Regions from separate parts of the Homo sapiens genome. Here all the other regions are linked to region 6. Evidence: promoter capture Hi-C in 16 types of primary human blood cells and fetal thymus (Javierre and others, 2016). All regions are on one chromosome and are shown on one strand. Each heading gives the region's core, a stretch centred on a gene start or on the middle of the fragment in contact. The rest is flanking DNA. Distances are from core to core; before and after follow the strand shown. Region 1 overlaps LINC00702 (long intergenic non-protein coding RNA 702). Region 2 overlaps LOC105376356 (a long non-coding RNA gene). Region 3 has its middle 31 kb from the start of LINC00702. Region 4 overlaps LOC105376360 (a long non-coding RNA gene). Region 5 overlaps LOC105376360 (a long non-coding RNA gene). Region 6 holds the start of KLF6 (KLF transcription factor 6). Region 7 overlaps LOC105376360 (a long non-coding RNA gene).

Region 1 (2,700 bases), core at 191-2,690, 440 kb after region 6:
TTATTAATTCATTCAAGAAAAAAAGCATTGAATGCCTACTTTGCATCTTTCCCTATGTTAGGTCCTGAAAACAAGACGAGAAATAAGTCTCTGAAATTAAGGAGTCCAAATTCTGGTCATTAGAAGGGTTGTGTAAAACCAGTGATTGCATTGCAATGACATGAATGATATGACATAGCAGGGAGCATGGCTAATCCTATTGTCTACTTGATCGGGACATGTGGTGCCCAGATTAAACATTACTTCTAGGAGCGTCTGTGAGGGTGTTTCTAGATGAGATTAACATTTGAACTGGTGGATTTAGTAAAGTGGATTCGGATTACCCTCCACAAAGTGAGTGGGCATCATCCAATTCCTCAAGGACTTGAATAAAACAAAAGGTTAAGGGAGAAAGAATTCTACCCTGCCCCCTTCCTTTTTCTGCCCCAGCATTTGGCTGGAACAAAGGTTTTCTCCTGCCCTCGCACTGCAGTCACACCACCTGCTTTCCTGGGTCTCCAGCTCCAATTTTCCATAATAAATACATACATATAGATATAGATATCTATATATCTGTATCTAGCTAGTATCTATAAATATCTCTATCTATATAGATATATAGATAGATATAAATTGATAACTATATAGATATATTGATAACTATATAGATATAAATTGATAACTATCTATATAGATAGATACATATATAGGAAATATATGGGATATATGTCTATATCCCCCATTGCTTCTGATTCTCTGGACACCCCTGATTAAGACAGCAGGTAAACAAAAGCATTTAAACAAAAGAAAAGCCAGAAAGAAGGAAACTTGCTGGTGGGCTACTGAAATAATGTTACTGCCAGAAAGGAAGTAGAGAGGATGTCTAGCAAGATGAACATGCTGTGCAGGTCTGGAATATGAGGAAGTTAAAAGTGGGTCAGTCTTACAGGAATATCAAATTGATACAAAAATGTCAAAACTCAGGTATGGGTGGATGGTCAGGATTAGAGACCTTACTCAAAAGATAATTGACGCGAGAAGCATACATATTCTTCTCAAGTGAGAAACAGAGAAAGAAAAAAAAATGAGATAAGAGATAGATGAGAGGATCTAATACATTTCAAAGAAGCAAAAGAGAGTGAATAAATGGATAAATAACTCTAGATAAGCATTGACTATGAAATGCAATAATAATAGCAATGAATAAGCTGACGTACTTTAAAGGAAGGAGAATTAAAATGTATGAATAAAATGACATGCAAAACGAGATTGAAATGATTAATATAAAAATAAAGAATTGCAAAATGCTGGGCAGTGAAAAATGCACGTTTGTGCTTTCTTGGTGGAGACCCTGTGCAGGCATGGCATCGACAGGCTGGTGTCTCCTCCTCACACACTGGAAGTGGCCTGGGCATATTTGGTTATAAACTGTATTGGTCTGTTTTCACGCTGCTAATAAAGACATATCTGAGACTGGGTAATTTATAAAGAAAAGAGGTTTAATGGACTCACAGTTCCACATGGCTGGGGAGGTCTCACAATCATGGTGGAAGGCCAAGGAGAAGCAAAGTCATATCTTACATAGCAGCAGGCAAGAGAGCTTGTGCAGGGAAACTCCCCTTTATAAAACCACAAATCTCATGAGACTTATTCATTGTCATGAGAACAGCATGGGAAAGATCTGCCCCATGACTCAATTACTTCCACCTGGTCTCTCTTGACATGTGGGGATTATGGGGGTTATAATTCGAAATGAGATTTGGTGGCTACACAGCCAAACTATATCAAAACATACTCTTCCTTCAACTGTAGAAATTTTACTTTATTTTTTAAGTGCATAATTGAAAGTAAATCGGGGTGGTTAAGTGGGCAAAGAACTCTTTTCAAAGGTCTAGCTCAAGGATAGCTTTCAGGGGCAACAATCTGTGTTGTGTTTCTTAACCACAGATTCCTTTTGTCAGCCCCCTGAGATATCCTACAACTTCTTTGATATCAGTTGATGAGGAGAAATAGACATAAATCCATCATGACCAATGAAGAAAAATTCAAGCCCTGGGATGGTGGATTCACAGCTTCACATATGAAGAATATCATATGTAAAACCTAAATAAAAGGAAGGTTTTTATTTTTATTTAGTTAAAATACAGCTTTTTTTTGTCAAAGCTGGCAAAAATAAGCACATTGATGCAAATATATTTTCTAGGTATTACTTATCTGTAGAATTGAAAATCTAGTCATAAGTTTAAAAATATACTTCAACAGGGATTGGACAAGTTCAGAAAACTCAAAAGGAATGAAATTTTATCAGCTGTTCTCAGAAAAGACTTTTCTTCTCCCAGAAAATAGTAAGTTGCTTCTGTTCTTATAAATGAGCCTCTGTAAAGCAAACATTATTTATTTATTATAACATATTGAGACTGTCTGCCTTTTTATGCAATTATGTCTTTGTTTTTATTCAAATTTCAGAGAGTATTAAGAACATTTTATGCATTATGTATGAATCAAATATCAATTGATCAAATATACATTTGAAGAAAATATATTTAATTTGTGCTTAAAATGCATAAAAATATTCACTTTATTCTGCCCCATTTTTTCTAATAGGTATATTATTCCCTACGGAAAATAGGATTTGTTAAAAAAAAAAACCCATATGGTAACAACTTTCCCAGAACATATAATTATGGTAAACTGAATATTTTTAAAAGTAGTCTACAATTT
Region 2 (2,700 bases), core at 61-2,560, 480 kb before region 6:
CTGGAGTGCAGTGGCGCAATCTTGGCTCACTGCAACATCTGACTCCCTGGTTCAAGCTATTCTCCTGCCTCAGCCTCCCAAGTAGCTGGGACTACAGGCATGCACCACCACGCCCAGCTAACTTTTTGTATTTTTAATAGAGATGGGGTTTCACCATGTTGGCCAGGATGGTCTTGATCTCTTGACCTCATGATCCACCCACCTCAGCCTCCCAAAGTGCTGGGATTACAGGCATGAGCCACCATGCCTGGCCGTGAGTTCTTAATTTTGGTTATTGTATCTTGTTCTAGAATTTCCATTTGGTTCTTTCTTTATAGTTTCCAGTTCCTTAACGCTTTAAAAAAAGTTTATTAAGTATGTAAATCATATCTGATAACACCATCTAAATCCCTCTCTGTTTCCATTGTCCATTGTTTTACATTTTTTTCTTCTATGTGCTCTATTGTTTTTGATTGAGTGCTAGACATTGTATATGAAAAAACTTTACGTCTAATTAAATGCATAAGATGTTATTACCTTTCTTCAAAGAGAATGCACATTGCTTTCGGCAGTGGCCAGGAGCAGTAGAATTCCTGCAACAACGTAGTCCATTTATGGAACTCATAGGATTTTAAACTGAACTTGGGCTCCTGTGAATGCTGACGTCTTTCTGGCTTATCTTTATTTCCAGGGTTTAGTCTTTTAGGGTTCTTCCTGTTGGCAGACCTAGACTCTGATATTTGCTCTCCTTCCCTAATAAGGTTGCCAAAAGCTTCACTCAGCTTGTAAGCTTCTCAGTCCCCCTTTTGAGAATCAGAGGAACTCCTTGGAGGAAAATGTACTCAAATGTCAGGTTTATAAGTATGGATTTTACATTCTTCTGGATTGTATCTTCATTGCCTTGTTATTCTCCAGTGATTTCAAACACATTAAATATATTTTATTCTCTGTATTCAGTTGTCTGGGTGAGAGACTTGGCAAACATCACCTAATTGTATGAGTTTGCTAAGGCTGCCATAACAAAAACCCATCAGTTAGGCAGCTTAAACAACAGACATTTATTTGATCACAGCTCTGGAGGCTGGAAGTCCAAGATGAAGGTGTTGACAGTTTTGACTTCTTCTGAGGCCCCTCTCCGTGGCCTGTACAGGTCACCTTCTCACTGTTCTCACAGCACCATCTTTTTGCATGTGCTCTGGTGTCTCTGAATGTCCACATTTGACACTAGTCAAACTGGATTAGGGCCCACACCATCAGCCTTATTTTAACTTAATTACCTCTTTAAAGACCCTATCTCTAAATACACTCACATTTGGAGATAGTGGGGGTTACATCTTCAACATATAAATGTTGAGAAGACACAATTTAGCCTACAATACTAGCCTACCATTAATGGGGAGAAGTCCCTTACTTGAAATGCAAAGGAGGTATTGTGTCACCCTCATTGATTTAATTCCATTTTCACAAAACGACTTCTGTGTGTGTGTTTGTGTGTGTGTGTATAGTGCAAGAAGAGAAAAGTATTGCAATTCCTGTGACTATAACTTCTCAGGGTTTCTGTACTCATAAACATTCCTTCTATGTAAGCACATTTTAGTCAAATTTTTGGCAAGATTGACAAATTTGCATAGAGAAAATGAATTCCATCAAGGCAATTTAATTCATTTCTAAACTTTGTGTACCATTTTAGAAAACATGTTTTTATGAAATTATTCTATTTGATTTTTTCCATTTAAATATTTGTCAAAAGTTGAATTCATTGATTCACTTTTTGCCCATATCGAGTTTTACTGATTAGAGCTTCTGCATCATGGATGCTCTGTGCAACCATAATTTTTGAAGAGGCAGCCCTATTTTCCTTCAGGTAACCTGGGAAGCTTTAAAATTGTTTTGAAATTTGATTCTTCTGCTTGTTTTTAGCCAACAGCAAACTTTACCATGTTCAATTTTTATTATTGTCAGTTTTCTTTTTATTTCCTTCAACGATTTAATAGAAGCCTTTGAATAACTAAAGGGAAGACAGAGAGTTTTTATTAACTTCTTAAATAATCCAGGAAAAGTATTGAACAATTTTATGAGACAGAGTACTGAGAAAGAAAGAAAAATACAGAGAAAATGAGAAAAGAGATGGAGGAAGACTGGGGAAGAGAGAGAAAAGGGAGTGAGGTGACAATATTGAGTCTAAACTGTTAGGTAAAAAGCCGTCCTTCAACTGAAACCAGTTCCAAATAACCTTTCTGTATGTCATGAACATATGCATTTAAATAGCTTTGTGGTCGTAAGTAAAGAGACCCTCCACCAATCTTAACTAACTTTGAGATCCTGCTAATCTCTCTGTAGTAGCAGCAGTTTCAGATGACATGCTATGATGGTTTTTTTTTTTTTACTGGAAAAATCAGATATACTTCATTCTTACTTTTTCAATCTTGAATTAGCTACACTGAAATGTGTAGAAATGGGGGTATCTCCATGTTTCCCAAGATCCCCCCCTCTCTGGATGCAAATTCACCGGCTCCTAGACTCACACTTTCGCCTACAGACTTGAGTCCCTTCAAAGGATGCTACAGGCATGTCTGGATTGCGTAGCATGGGCCCAAACCCAGTTCTGCCAGCCTTCTGGACAGTTGCTTTTTGTCATCTGTTGCTTCTCTGCTGTGTTTAGCTGGCTCTATTCTTCACAGGACTCCTCCTTCCCACCAGGCATATCTCCCTCGCTTGGGA
Region 3 (2,700 bases), core at 130-2,629, 490 kb after region 6:
ATTGAGCTGAGACCCTGGTCTTCTCTGGCCCTTGCACTGAAACTTGTGTTGGCTCTGCTGATTTTCAGGCTGTGAGACTCAGACTGGAATTTACACCACCGACTTTCCTGTGTCTCCAGCTTAAAGATGGCAGATCATGGGACTTAGCCTCTATAGTCATGTGAGCCAATTCCTTATTCTACTTATACATCTACATATGGAAACATCCTGTGATTTCTGTTTCTCTGGAAAACTCTGACCAACAAAAAAGTCATACAATTTTAATAGCCAAAACCTGCAGACTATGCACTTTTGAAATGTCCAGGACAACTTTAGATGAGAACACAAATATTACCTCATCTTAGTACACAATAGACTTTTAGTCTATAACGAAGCAAGCAAAATTTTAAAAAGTAAAGACTGAATAAGAAGTATAATATCTCTGAGGAATAGCCACACCATCTTCCACAATGGTTGAACTAATTTATGTTCTCACCAAAAGTGTAAAAGCATTCCTATTTCTCCACAACCTCGCCAACATCTGTTGTTTTCTGATTTATTGATGATCGCCATTATGACTGGAGTGAGATGATATCTCACTGTGGTTTTGATTTGAATTTCTCTAATGATCAGTGATGTTGAGTTTTATTTCACATGTTTGTTGGCTACATGAATGTCTTCTTTTGAGAAGTTTCTGTTCATTTCCTTAGCCCAGTTTTAAATGGAGTTGTTTGAATTTTTTTTCGTAAATTTGTTTAAGTTCCTTGTAGATCCTTGACATTAGACCTTTGTCAGATGGACAGATTGTAAAAATTTTATCCCACTCTATTGACCCAGCAATCTCCTTACTGGGTATATACCCAAAGGAATATAAATAATTCTATTACAAAGATACATGCATGAGTATGTTTATTGCAGCACTATTAACAATAGCAAAGACATGGAACCAACCCAAATCCCCATCAGTGATAAACTGGAAAAAGAAAATGTGGTACATATACACCATGGAATACTACACAGCCATGAAAAGGAATGAGACCATGTTTTATGTAGGCACATGGATGGAGCTGGAAGCCATTATCCTCAGCAAACTAATGCAGGAACAGAAAACCAAACACTGCATGTTCTCACTTATAACTGGGAACTGAATGATGAGAATGGATACAGGGAGGAGAACAACATACACTGGGGTCTGTTGGGGGATGGGGGGAGGGAGATCATCAGGATAAACAGCTAATGCATGCTGGGCTCAATACCTAGGTAATGAGTTGATAGGTGCAGCAAACCACCATGGCACATGTTTGCCTACGTAATGAACCTGCACTTCCTGCACATGTACCCGAGAGCTTAAAATTTAAAAAAAATTTAAAAAGTATAACTTGTAGTCATGTATATCTTAAACAACTTTAAAAACTAATGTACTGTGTTCCCCCTTTTCCTTCAAGGAAAACCATTATAATATGATCTTGTCAATAATCAGCATTTTCTAGTTAGGAAACTTGATAACATTATCAAAACTGTTTTTTTGAGAGAATACAATTTTGACAATTTCTACATTGAGTCAAAACTTCTGTGATAATTAGTTTTAAATTGACCTAGGCTACTTTCTTACTGTATTTAGAAAAAAAAACAAAACTGAGATTATATATAACCTACAAAATATCAACATACAATATCTGTTCATTCTTTAAATCTTGGGATATTATTTTATTTTCTATTATCCTGTGAATTGAAAAATTTTACTCACATGACTTTTACCTCTATCAATTGTCTGAAAATTAAAATGATACTGAAATAGTAAGGATTAAGATTCTTAGCCTAATGTTAACAACAGTTCTCACCTTATCCATGGGGGATACATTCCAATACCCCGGGTGTATGCCTGAAACCTCCAATGCTACCAAGCCCCACATACTCCATGTTCTTTCCTATACCTACAAATCTATGACCAAGTTTGATGTACAAATTAGGCAGAGTAAGACATTAACAATGATAACTAATAATAAAATTGAACAATTATAGCAATATATTATAATAAAAGGTTATCTAAATTTGGTCTCTCTTATTTCACTGTATCACCAATAACTAAAACTGTGAAAAGTGAAACTGTGGATAAGGCAGGACTATGGTACTTAATTACTAATTCATATGAAGCAGATATGTTTTAAAGTGTTCAGAGAAGAAGGGTATCTACTTTTGTCCCTGCCTTAAACCTGCCTACCCTGAAAAACACTTTCAATACTGTTCAGCATAAAGGAGATAAGTGAGTAAATGCGGCAGCTCACAGCTGAAGAGGATGCTACAATTTGGGTGCCAGAGGTTGCAGGTGAAAAACAACAGAAGCAATAACAATACTCAATGAATTTTATGGAGCAGTATTGTCCTTAGAGTTGTCTCCCATGCATCCTCATTTTGTCATCATGGTCATCCTGTGAAAAGCCTGCCCTTGTGATCCCCGTTTGATAGGGGAGGAGGCTGCTGCTCAGAGGACTGTGTGACCTGCACATGGCTGTGGCCCTCGCTTGTGGAGTGTGCACTTAGAACGCCAGGCCCACAGCAGTCAGATTCCACGGCTTCTCTCTTTTTCTCTCCCCTGCTCATCCAGGACTCTGCATTAGACCTCACATTAGAAGTGTGCAGTGCACAGTGAGAAGCCTCATGCCCTCTCCCCTGCAAGGAATTATGATGAAAAACTTAGGAAGTAGCATTCTCCATCCCTGC
Region 4 (2,700 bases), core at 171-2,670, 390 kb before region 6:
TGTCTGGGTTTTAGTTACAACAAGATAATCATTTAATGAGCTAAAATTATCTTAGAGAAATTCTAGTCAGCTTTTCATATTGCAATTTGCTAGGAAGCCAAGTTTCTCAAGGGGAATAGGAACTGCAAATCACTTGTTTAAAAAAAAATTCTCCTGTGACACACACATCTGTGTACAAACACACACAACCACACACACACACACACACACACACACACACACAGCTGACCTCTTGAAAGACAGTCACTGATGGGAAACTGTTTTAACCCTCTGGAGTGCTGGTCCCTGGGAAAGTCTGGCAGTGACAGTTTTGGGAAACTCTTTGGCCGAGAAACCCACACTTTTATATCACAAAACATCGCACTGCTTAATTTTAGCCTTGTGGTACAAAGAAAATATCTCTGCAAGATTTTCAGAGACAGGCGGCTTGGTAACCATCTCCACTCCAATAATTAGCAAACACCCTCTGCTACCCTGGAGGTGCAATCTAACCAACACCCCAGCACCATGATCACCATCCGGCCAGGGGTCCTGGCAGCCAGTGTGGGGATTTGCAGTACTTACAGAAATGCTATAAAATCTCCAAACGTCTTCACTGTTGCCTTTTGCTCTGTAGTGCAACTTTTCTGCATTGTAGTTATTGTATGGCTTTGTATTTCTTGTTTTTTACACTCAGGACTTTAGAGTTAAGTATTTGTACACCAGGTAGGGCTATCACCTTTATCTCATTGTACATGCAATATTATAACACACAATTTTGGTGCTTTTAACACTATTTCTTTTTTTCATTTTTATTAAAGAATGTTTATTTGAATTATATACTTTTAAAAAATGAATAGTATTCACATACAGCATTAGATACACCCAGTGCCCATTTGTAGTTTGTCCAAGCTCCATCATAATAAACCACCAATGATGAACTCCAGTAGCAATGGGGCAAAAACCCCCTTCCAGGGATGGGCGCTTTACCTGGCTGGGTGCCTGACTGTAGGCTGGGCCTGCGTGTCTGGGAGTCCCAGGGCGGCTGGGTATTTGAGCAAAGCTCCTGGGGTTTGTCCTTCCCTCTGTACATTTTCTTACCATTGCACAAGCAGTGGGCACTGCCCCTCCCTGTCCATTGTCCTCCACATCAGCTCGGACCTCTGGGCTTCCATCTGGTAGACCCCTCGCTTGCTCAGGGCATCCATTCAGGGTCCGGTCCCCATTCACCCTTCATACCTCCACTCAGGACATGCACTTTTGTCTTCCTTTCTAGCCCTCAACAATCCAACTTTAATGGCCCATGAGAACCAGAGCTGACCCCATCAGAAACTTCCCAACAACTCACGCATCAGAAACTTCCCAACAACTCAAAAGGGTTTGTGTTCCCCAGAAGGCAGACAATGCTCGACCCACCGGCATGCCAGAAATGGAAGGGCAGAGCTGGGAGCCGAGGACGACGGGGATGTGGGGATGGAGGAATGGGGGCAGGGCTTCCTTCTCAGAATTGGTTGACCACCCCTGAAGGAATGGGAGAAGGAACAAGCCAGACATTGCTGGTACACTGTCACGTGCATAGCACCTGAAATGAGCTTTCAAAGTCAGACTTTGCCCTAGTCACTGAGAGCAGCTGCAAGTGTGGGGAGACGCTGACCATAGGCACAGGTGATGGGCGTGACAGGTGATCTATCAAGTAGCCGAAGGGGTATCTGGGTGAGAAAGGTGGCTTTCTGAGGACAGGTTCCCTATCTGGTACTACCCAGATATTCTCCAATGAGACTTCTGTGCTCCTCCGAGCAGTGAGACTGGCACGTGAAGAGATCTCTGAGAGACATGAAGTGAATGAGTGACAGGCTGTATCACAGGGTCAGGTGATCCTGGTTTCAGTACAGCTTTCTTACCTCTCAGATGTGTAACATCAGATGAGTTGCCTAACTTCTTAAAACCTCATTTTCCTCATTTTTAAGATGGAATTAACAACAGCGTCCACTGTGTTCATGGTAATGTGTCCATAAATGTTAGAAGGGAGGAAAGGAGGAAGGAAGGAAGGAAGGAAGGAAGGAAGGAAGGAAGGAAGGAAGGAAGGAAGGAAAGAAAGAAAGAAAAAATTTTAAAAAAGGAAAGAAAAGGAAAGAAAAAGGAGAGGGTAGGGGAGGAGGGGAGGGAAGGGAAGGGAAAGGAGAAAGGAAAGGAGAGGATAAAAGGAAAGAAGAGTAGAGAAGAGGTTCATTTGTGGCCTCCATTTTGGGCCACCCTCAGCTAGCAGTGAGCATCCCTGGGTTAAATGCAATAGGTTAAAGACACAGTTCTCTCCAGTCTGTGTCATCAGAAGAATATTTTACAAGCAACCTTGTAAGCATTCAAAGGGAAAGCTGGGCTCAATATTTCCTCCACCTAATGCAGAAACAATGAAAGCTGATGTTTATAAAGTGGGAAGATCGTAAGCACTAAATATTGCTCATTAGTTTATAGAAATAGTAGCATGGATAATAACAAATGATTTAGAAAGGCTGTTCAGTGATTCTTATTTACCCTGCCCAATAATATATGAACAAAAGGTAGGTGATAAAATTAGAAGACATCCCATTTAGAACAGATAAAAGACAACACTGCCTTGTTTACTCACCATGTAATTATCTTGTAAAAGTCTTCACTACAGGATATTATTGTGACAAATAGTTTCAGCTAAGGATTAGGCATTTATAATAAGAGGAGCAACAT
Region 5 (2,700 bases), core at 43-2,542, 450 kb before region 6:
TGCAAAGAATCTTATAATATTTTAAGAAAGTGTACCAATTTTTGCTGGTACACTTTCAAAACCATCCTGGCTTATATACAGCCCACAGGCTGCGGGTTGGACACACTTGGCTTAGAGCTTTTTGGCTAAAAACATACACACACATTTTTAAAAGATTGATTTTATGGTACCATTTTAAAAAAATTTCTGAGAGAACTACATACACATCTTTCCTTTGCGTCTTTCTGCTGAAGTGTTCAGGTGTGAGCCCACAAAAGTGCTGCTTTGAGGCCCCAGGTCTTCCAGGGTAGCCTTGAAGACAGGACACCTGCCCACATCTCCTGCTGTACAGGAGGCCATGGCATTCCCCAGTCCTCCACCTGTGGCTGGGTTTCCCAAATGTGGCTGTGGCTTTTCTTTCCTTTTGGGTCTTTGCTCATTCTACTTTTCTGATATACTTTCCAAGTTCAACCAAACTCAGGACTTAATTATCCAACACATGCAAAAATCCACCTCCTAACTGAGGTTGAGTTGAAATGTGAGTACTTTTGAAACCAGCTGAGCGGCATATTTCTAACAACGACTCTTGTAATTCACTTCATAGTCGAATATTTTTTCTGTAACTTTTTTTTTTGGCGGGGGTGGGGCGGCGGGTGGGGGTGGAGGGTGGCAAGCACAGAGTCTCTGTCACTCAGCATGGAGTCCAGGCTGGAGTGCAGTGGTGCGATCTCAGCTCACTGCAACCTCCGCCTACTGGGTTCAAGCAATTCTCCTGCCTCAGCCCCCCAAGGAGCTGGGATTACAAGCGCCCACCACCACACCCAGCTAATTTTTTGTCTTTTTAGTAGAGATGGGGTTTCACCAAGTGTTGGTCAGGCTGGTCTTGAACTCCTGACCTCAGGTGATCCACCCACCTTGGCCTCCCAAAGTGCTGGGATTAGAGGCATGAGCCACCTCATCTGACCTTTTTCTGTACACTTTTAAAGATGATCGAAACATTTAAAATAATTGTGTCTAATGGACAGATATAACAATGGGTTTTAATAATATTTTAGTTGAATGGGACAAATTTGTACTGAGTGTTTAAATATCTGTAAAAATGTGTAAATATTTAGAAATATTGATGTTTAATATTGAAAGAATATTAATTGTTTGACAGATTATAAGATGAATGAATTGAGCATTAAAAAATGTATCACCAATAGTGCTGGTCTCTCGGCTGTATCTGATAATTTCAGTTAACAAATAAGGCAAATGCATAGAAAATTGTTGTGGATTTGTCAGAAGATGGAAAGTGGCAGGTAGCTGAGTCTGAATTGGACCCAGCCTCACATGCAAGTGTTGGTATGACAGGTTTCTGAAACCATTTACTGTGGAAAGTTGTTGTGTCAGGGAGATTGACAAATGTTCTATAAGATAGAGTGTAGGGGTCAAGTTAGTTTGGAAATGCTGACTGCTACATCATCTCTTAGGGACACACAAGGCAATTTGGCATATTAAAGATTGTGAGAAGTCCTGTCTGAGCACTGGCCAATAGAAACACAAGGTAAATCACAAGTACCACTAAAATCTCCTCATAACGACACTGATAAAAGTAAAAAGGGAACAGATAAAATCAATTTTAATGGTGTATTTAACCCAGTGCATTCAAAATCTTATCACTTTACTATGTAACCAGTAGGAACACATCAATGAGGCATTTTTGACTCCTTTTTTCACATCAAGACTAAGAAATCCAGTGTCCGTTTTTGCATTTAATGAGCATCTTTTTTTAAAGCAATTTTTTTGTAGAGATGAGCTTTCAGTCTGTTGCTCAGGCTGGCCTTGGCCACCCAAAGAGCTGAGATTACAGGTATGAGCCACTGACCCTGGCCTTATGAGCATCTTAATCCGAACCCGTATGATTCACAAGACACCCTGGCTCAGTGGCTGTGTGTGGCCAGGGTTACGTGTGGGGTGGGACAAGTTTTCTTGAAGAGCTCTGTTCAACACCATTAACCTCCACCATGTCACAGATGCATCTGACTTTAGAAAGCTCCCCCATTCCCAGCACAAATGCATTTTTGATTTGGAACACCTGGTGACACCTCATCTCACCAGACCTGACGATACACGGAGCCCATTTTCGGGAAGGTCACTGCGTGTCAGGGATATGTGTGAAGTGGACACTGCTCTTCCAGTCTGCCTGCTGCCTTCCTGTGTAGCCCTTTTGCTCTTTAAACAATAGCTACTTTGCTAAGAAACTCGGTGCTGTCCAGCCGCCTCCAGGCATCCCGAGGGTCTGGAAATGAGGTCCCTGCTCACCCCAGTTCCTGGCTGTGTGATCACTGTCTACAACAAGATGAATGTCTCGCTGTTCTCATGCTATTTAGTATTTTATTTATTTTTCTCAGACAGAAATGAGTAAGCCCATAAGAGGATGTGCTCACCAGGAAGCGAGGAAGCCACATGCACAGCACACGGAGCTGCTGCTTCCCTAGCTGGGAGGCCTGGTGCAGGGTCTTGCCATAGCCAAGGGCTCTGGGCGGAGGAAGGTGGAGAGATACCACGCTCAGCTCCCTGTGCAGTTCGCAATTCACGAGACACCCTAAACACAACGGTCTCCGGTCTAAATGGAATTAACTCAGTCTCACTCACAAACATCAGGGAGGGAGCCACTTCACAAACAAATCCAGACTATCTGAGAACTGGCTGCTGAATGTCCGAAGAAAGCTGCATGTG
Region 6 (2,700 bases), core at 120-2,619:
TGCCCAAATCCCAAACGCCCGAAGGAAACTACTTAGATCAATTTCAATCACGTCCTAGGGAGCAGCTTCTTTGAGGAGGAAAAAAACAGGAGGGGGAGGGGGAAAAGGCAGGAGAGGACTGTGAACAATTAAGCAGGCGTGTGAAGGTTGCAACACCCTGCATTTCATCTTCCTTAAAGCTTTCGAGGCTTGGAAACCCACAGCCTCTATTTGATCTGGCAATTCACTTTGTGACGAAAAACAAACAGCACAGCAGGGCAGGGAGACAACAGTAAACCCTCCTGCGATCGCTGGAGAGACAATGGGAGGAGTGTCAGTCTCTCTCCCCTCGGGCGATGCTACCTATAAGCACGGGGACCTGGTAAGTTTCTTAAATTTCCAATGCCCCCAAATTCCAGTTCTACGACAATGTCGGAAACCGAGGTCCTTCTTTCCAAACTAAGACTTGAAGCAGTTTGGACGGGCTCATTGTCACAAGACTGACAAGTCACTGGGGTGTACACAGTTTTATTTTTATTTTTCTTGGTCAACAAGAGAAGCAGGGAAGACAAATAAGGCAGATCTAGGGGAAATGTTAGGCATTCCAAAGAGCAGAAAACACATTGGAAATGGTCTACAGTTTAAAAAAGACAAAAATAAAAGAGAGCTGGTCTACGTTCTGGGGGCAAAATGTGATTTTTTTAAAAAACTGTTAAGTACAAGCACCAAGAAACAAAACAAAAACAAAATCCGTTAAAAAAAAACAACAAAAAACAAACAAACAAAAAAAAAACACCTTGGCAGGCAGAGCAAGTTGGTCCCCATGACAAGCTCCAGCTGTGGCGTCTGGAGCGGGGACAGGCTCCGAACTCGTGCCAGGGGCTCGGCCGGGCTGTGCCGGGAGTTGGGGCTTCCCTGGGCGGACGCTGATCGCAGCCTGGAGGATCGATCGGCGGGGGCGCTGCGCCCGCTCCCCCGGTGACAGCGCGGGGCCCAGGCCCAGCGGACCGCAGAGAGCACCGGGTCTGAACCCCAAACAGCCGACCCGGCCCGCGCCCCGGCGCCCGCAGGGAACCGCGGCCGGCTGCGTTTACCTGTTGCCAGTACTCCTCCAGAGACGGCAGCGCCGAGAAGTAGCCGGTCTCGTGCACGATCTGGAGCTCCTGGAAGATGCTGCACATGGGGAGCACGTCCATGTCGGGCCGGGTTGGACGGAGCCCGCGGTCGCGAGGGCGGCGAGGCGCGCGGTGGGAGCCGGAGCCGAAAGTCTCCCCGGAGCGCAGGTGAAAGTTTCATGCAAACTCCAGGCTCGCAGAGACGCCCGGCCGGACCCTCCCGCAGCCCGCAGCGCGCGGAGCCCACACAATATTTGCAAACACCGGACTGACTGCAAACGTAACCCCTGCAAAACTTCCCTATTCAAAGCTCCGCTGCCAGCCTCCCCCTCCGCCCCCGCCTGGCTCCCCCCACTCCCCCTCCCCCCACGTGACTCGCCCCGCGCCCGCCCCGTGCGCGGCCCAATCCCGTGGCTCCCGGCCCGGGGGCTGCGCGCCGATGATGTCAGCTCCGGCCAATCGCAGGCGGCGACACACAGCGGCCCCGCCTGGCGTGACCGAGACTCTCCATCACGGCCCGCACCATTGGCTCAATTCGAACTCTGCTCGTTCTGATTGGAAAGTGGCCTCGCAGGCTATTTTTAGCAGGGTATATAAGGCGCGGGCGGCCGCGCGCCGGAGGAGTCCGCGCTGTGAGGTGCGCGGCCGAGCCCTGCACTGCGCCCGCGGCCGGAGCTAAGGGAGCCGGGGCTGGGAGAGCCGGGGCGGGCCGCGTCGCCTGTCCCCAGTCCCGGTCTCTCTTCCCCGCTGCCCGGTCCCGCCACCCCACGCCCGTCCCGGTCACCAAGCCGGGCCCTGTCGCCGCGCGAGCCCCGGTTCCGGCAGCTCACCCTGCGGGCGGCCGTCCGGTCCCGGGGCCGCCCGGTTCCCCCCCGTCCCCTTCTATGCCCGAGGCCGCCCCGTCCCCAACTGTCCCCTTCTACGCCGGGGGCTTCCCGGTCGCCAACTGTCCCCTTCTATGCCCGGGGCCGCCCCGTCCCCAACTGTCCTCTTCTGCGCCGCTCTGTTTCCCTACATCCCCCTAGTCATCCTCTGTTCTCTAACCTTGGGGTACCCCTCTCTGTCCTCCTCCACCTCCGGGTCCCTCTCTGTCCCCCTCCATCCCTGAGCCCGTCTCCGTCCCCCTCCAGTCCTAGGGTCCCCTCTGTCCTCCGGGCCACCAGAGTGGGGGAGGGGAGCACGCAGGCTCCCCTTGGAATTGGGAGAAACGTGTTTATCTTGTAGAGGGCGATCTTAGCCCTCACCAAGGTTAACAGCTAGGTTTTCCCATGAACGTGTAAACAATTTAGGTGCAAGCCGACATTTAGTGTGTGTGTTTTTTTCCATATAAATTATCTCCTAAAATATACCGTAATGTTCATTTTTAAGAAAAATGTCGAGACTCGAACCAGAGCATTTTAAAATCCAAAATGGAAAACTGAATTGTAACTGTATTATAGTTTTTGTTTCAAAATAGTTTAATGAACATTAAACATTTTGAAAGAATGGACTATGTAAAAAAAAATTAGAGGGTTTTGTATGTTAAGTTTTAGAGGGTCCGGCAGAAGCATGTGGCTGTAAGACTAGGTGGGGACCTTAGTGAGTCTGGAGTGGAGAAAGGAGGTTT
Region 7 (2,700 bases), core at 120-2,619, 420 kb before region 6:
GCTGATGTTGATGAATGCCTTGTTCCAGTAGATTGATATGCCATTGCTCTACAAAATTCAAGTCAGTGAAAGAGTTAGTTAACTCCAATGGTATCCCTTTTCCCTAATACATACCTTATTAGAACAAGCCTTTCTAGAGGCATACAGAGGAAATATTCCAATCAGAGCATAGGAAATAGGCATTTAACTCTCATTAAAGGAGAGTGTTGCTCTGAATCTGTCAGTGGAGAGATTTATTCCATGAGGAACAAAGTATTTTATCCACTAAGTACACTCAAGGCCCTCAACTGACAGCTTTCCTCCCTTTATTTTTTAACTGTGTTTGTTTGGAGAGGCTGATGTACACTCTCACAAGATTGAAGAGCCCACACACTCTTCCTCTGTGACAGTGGGGACCCTCTGACTAATTCCTCACCTCTGTTCCTGTGAAATCTGAGTCAGGACTGACAGCTACCATGGAAACCTGTGGGTATTGAACACTTAATGTCCTAGTTCATAAAGTGAAGGTAATTTGAATTCAATGTCTTTGTCTTCTCCAACTCTCATACCTTTCTCTCCAGTAGATGATAAACCTTCCTTTTTCTCCCCCTCCCAGAGCCACTGGTGAGGTTATCGGTGCTGTTTGGGTTTACCTGACCACCACCATCTGTCCCTGCAGCAGAGGAGATCTTGGAGCCTGCCCTACCATAAGCCAATGCTAGTTAAACATTATGAACTTTGAAGATATGATATCTCTATTAATAATCTAAACTAATTTTTAGTCAAGGAATAGAAAAACATGGAGAAGAAAACTAATGCTTTGCAATGAACACTATGAGGAGGACAAGAAAAAAGAATAAAAAGATCAACAAAGTAAATGAGAACAAAAGGGATCTAATCCCAAATTAAAAACCCCCTGTGTACCCCATGCTGACAGCCTCTCTCTCAAACTGCCAGGATAACCAGGACGCCCTAACCCTGAAGCCAACGTGGATTTGCTTGACATGGTTTTTGTTTTTGTTTACTGTCTTCCCCATGTGTCATGCCCGCTTAGTGGCTGGGCACATGAGGCCTCACCCCACTGGACTCTGGAGAGGGTTTGTAGGACACAGAGAGGCTTCCCTTTCCCCCAGGGACACAGCGTCACAGCAGACAGGCCATGGCTCCAACTTAACCTCCCATTCCTCCCAAGCTCTGACAGTGAACTATGTTGAGCTCAACAGCCACATTTACCAAGGGTAAGATTCTCAGGCCTCTCCTGGACCAGCTGTCCCAGAATCTGCATTGCAACAAGGCCCTGGTCATGGATACACTCATCAGAGTTTGAGAAACACTCTCAGATTCAGCGGTACTGAAAACTTTGTGGTCTCGGGATCTCTCTACGCTCTGAAAAAATGTGGCTTTCCAGAGCTATTGCTATGTGCTTACATTTATCTCTATTTGCCAAATTTAAATTTTAAACTGTGAACATTTTAAGATATTTGTTTATTACTTTATTTACAAATAAGAACAATGACCCAACTACATGTTAATATAAATATTTTTATGAAAAGTCATTATAATCTCCAACAAAATTAGAGATAAGAATGGCATTATTTTACATTTTTGCAAATTGTTCATGTCTGGCTTAATGCAAGACAGCTGGGTCTTCTCTGCTTTCACATTCAATACACTGCACTAGTGTACATCACATAACCTCTGGAATACTCCACTGTACATTCAAGAGAGAATGAGAGTGAAGGCAGGAAAGTCTTGGAATAATACTATGAAGAGTCATGTGTTGTGACTATAATAGTATTTTGTAACAATAATCCTAAACAATGATTTGTTTAGCATTAAACAAGTAGTTTTGACCTAGCAGTCCTCCTGAACAAGGGCTCACTCCGCAGAACCTTTGCTCCTATCCAAGCCCCACCTTCATTAGCTGGGTGGTCTTTTTAAGCAAGTGATGGCATCTCTGCTTTTCCTTACTTGAGGCGGTAGACAAAACCCCAGATTCCACTTGTCCTGAGATTCACCTCTGTTCTAGGTACTTTTTTTTTTGAGATGGTGTTTACGCTCCTGTTGCTCAGGCTGGAGTGCAATGGCACAATCACGGCTTACTGCAACCTCCGCTTCCCGGGTTTAAGCGATTCTCCTGTCTCAGCCTCCTGAGTAGCTAGGATTACAGGCGCATGCCACCACGCCCGGCTAATTTTTGTATTTTTAGTAGAGGCGGGGTTTCATCATATTGGTCAGGCTGGTCTCAAACCCCTGACCTCAGGTGATCCGCCCACCTTGGCCTCCCAAAGTGCTGGGATTACAGGTGTGAACCACCGTGCCCAGTCTATGTGCTAGGTACTTTTATGAATCTATACTTTACTGTGGGAGAAGAAAGGAAAAACAGAGACCCAGCAAATAACATGCCCTTGTCCAACAAACAGAACGCCGGAATTCAAGTGGAGATCTTTGGAACTCCAGTCCTCCCTCCAGAGGTGAAAGTGTTATTTGTGAATTGTAAGTTGATCAAGTGCTGTAAACTAACTAAAGTTACAAACTAACTGAAGTGCTAGAAACTAAAATAAATACAATAATGAAGAACAAGCATCATTATTCATAGTGTCTTTAATATTTCCATAGGCTACTTGGTTTGAAAAAGCAGCCTCCTCTGTGAGCCACTGAGCAGGAGGAAAAGCCAGCCCTGGAAGGACTCTGCAGAGAACAGATCACAGTGTTTAATTT

What was found. Contacts are between HindIII fragments. The CHiCAGO score rates a contact against its expected background, and 5 or more counts as called.
Region 1: a fragment that was not itself captured here is called in contact with the fragment with the promoter of KLF6 in region 6 in 1 of 17 cell types (neutrophils); the score reaches 5.2 in neutrophils.
Region 2: a contact is called between a fragment that was not itself captured here and the fragment with the promoter of KLF6 in region 6, in 1 of 17 cell types (neutrophils). The highest score is 5.2, in neutrophils.
Region 3: a contact is called between a fragment that was not itself captured here and the fragment with the promoter of KLF6 in region 6, in 1 of 17 cell types (neutrophils). The highest score is 7.0, in neutrophils.
Region 4: a contact is called between a fragment that was not itself captured here and the fragment with the promoter of KLF6 in region 6, in 1 of 17 cell types (neutrophils). The highest score is 5.9, in neutrophils.
Region 5: a contact is called between a fragment that was not itself captured here and the fragment with the promoter of KLF6 in region 6, in 1 of 17 cell types (neutrophils). The highest score is 5.4, in neutrophils.
Region 7: a fragment that was not itself captured here is called in contact with the fragment with the promoter of KLF6 in region 6 in 1 of 17 cell types (neutrophils); the score reaches 5.7 in neutrophils.

Annotation. Positions count from the first base shown.
Region 1 is chr10:4,219,872-4,222,571 of GRCh38, forward strand. The region is part of intron 2 of LINC00702 (long intergenic non-protein coding RNA 702); the gene reads right to left. Among named protein-coding and RNA genes, the nearest start is that of LINC00702, 23 kb to the right of the region's middle. RefSeq lists an enhancer at 1-490. The HindIII fragment of the contact is 3,462 bases long and covers 1-2,700 here.
Region 2 is chr10:3,302,661-3,305,360 of GRCh38, forward strand. LOC105376356 (a long non-coding RNA gene) reads right to left here. Exons shown (of 3, transcript XR_930566.3): 3 at 2,463-2,700. Among named protein-coding and RNA genes, the nearest start is that of LINC02668, 46 kb to the left of the region's middle. The HindIII fragment of the contact is 1,087 bases long and covers 768-1,854 here.
Region 3 is chr10:4,273,866-4,276,565 of GRCh38, forward strand. No RefSeq gene overlaps it. Among named protein-coding and RNA genes, the nearest start is that of LINC00702, 31 kb to the left of the region's middle. The HindIII fragment of the contact is 4,067 bases long and covers 1-2,700 here.
Region 4 is chr10:3,389,569-3,392,268 of GRCh38, forward strand. All of the region lies in intron 1 of LOC105376360 (a long non-coding RNA gene), which reads left to right. It overlaps LOC105376358 (a long non-coding RNA gene), which reads right to left. Exons shown (of 3, transcript XR_930568.3): 3 at 2,133-2,700. Among named protein-coding and RNA genes, the nearest start is that of LINC02669, 110 kb to the right of the region's middle. The HindIII fragment of the contact is 4,211 bases long and covers 1-2,700 here.
Region 5 is chr10:3,337,413-3,340,112 of GRCh38, forward strand. The region is part of intron 1 of LOC105376360 (a long non-coding RNA gene); the gene reads left to right. Among named protein-coding and RNA genes, the nearest start is that of LINC02668, 81 kb to the left of the region's middle. The HindIII fragment of the contact is 6,556 bases long and covers 1-2,700 here.
Region 6 is chr10:3,783,840-3,786,539 of GRCh38, forward strand. KLF6 (KLF transcription factor 6) reads right to left here and starts at 1,370. Exons shown (of 4, transcript NM_001300.6): 1 at 1,074-1,370. The coding sequence starts at 1,175. RefSeq lists enhancers at 1-191, 192-748, 749-1,304, silencers at 910-1,509, 1,760-2,039, 2,220-2,279 and a promoter at 1,171-2,108. The HindIII fragment of the contact is 8,520 bases long and covers 178-2,700 here.
Region 7 is chr10:3,362,213-3,364,912 of GRCh38, forward strand. The region is part of intron 1 of LOC105376360 (a long non-coding RNA gene); the gene reads left to right. Among named protein-coding and RNA genes, the nearest start is that of LINC02668, 110 kb to the left of the region's middle. The HindIII fragment of the contact is 5,911 bases long and covers 1-2,700 here.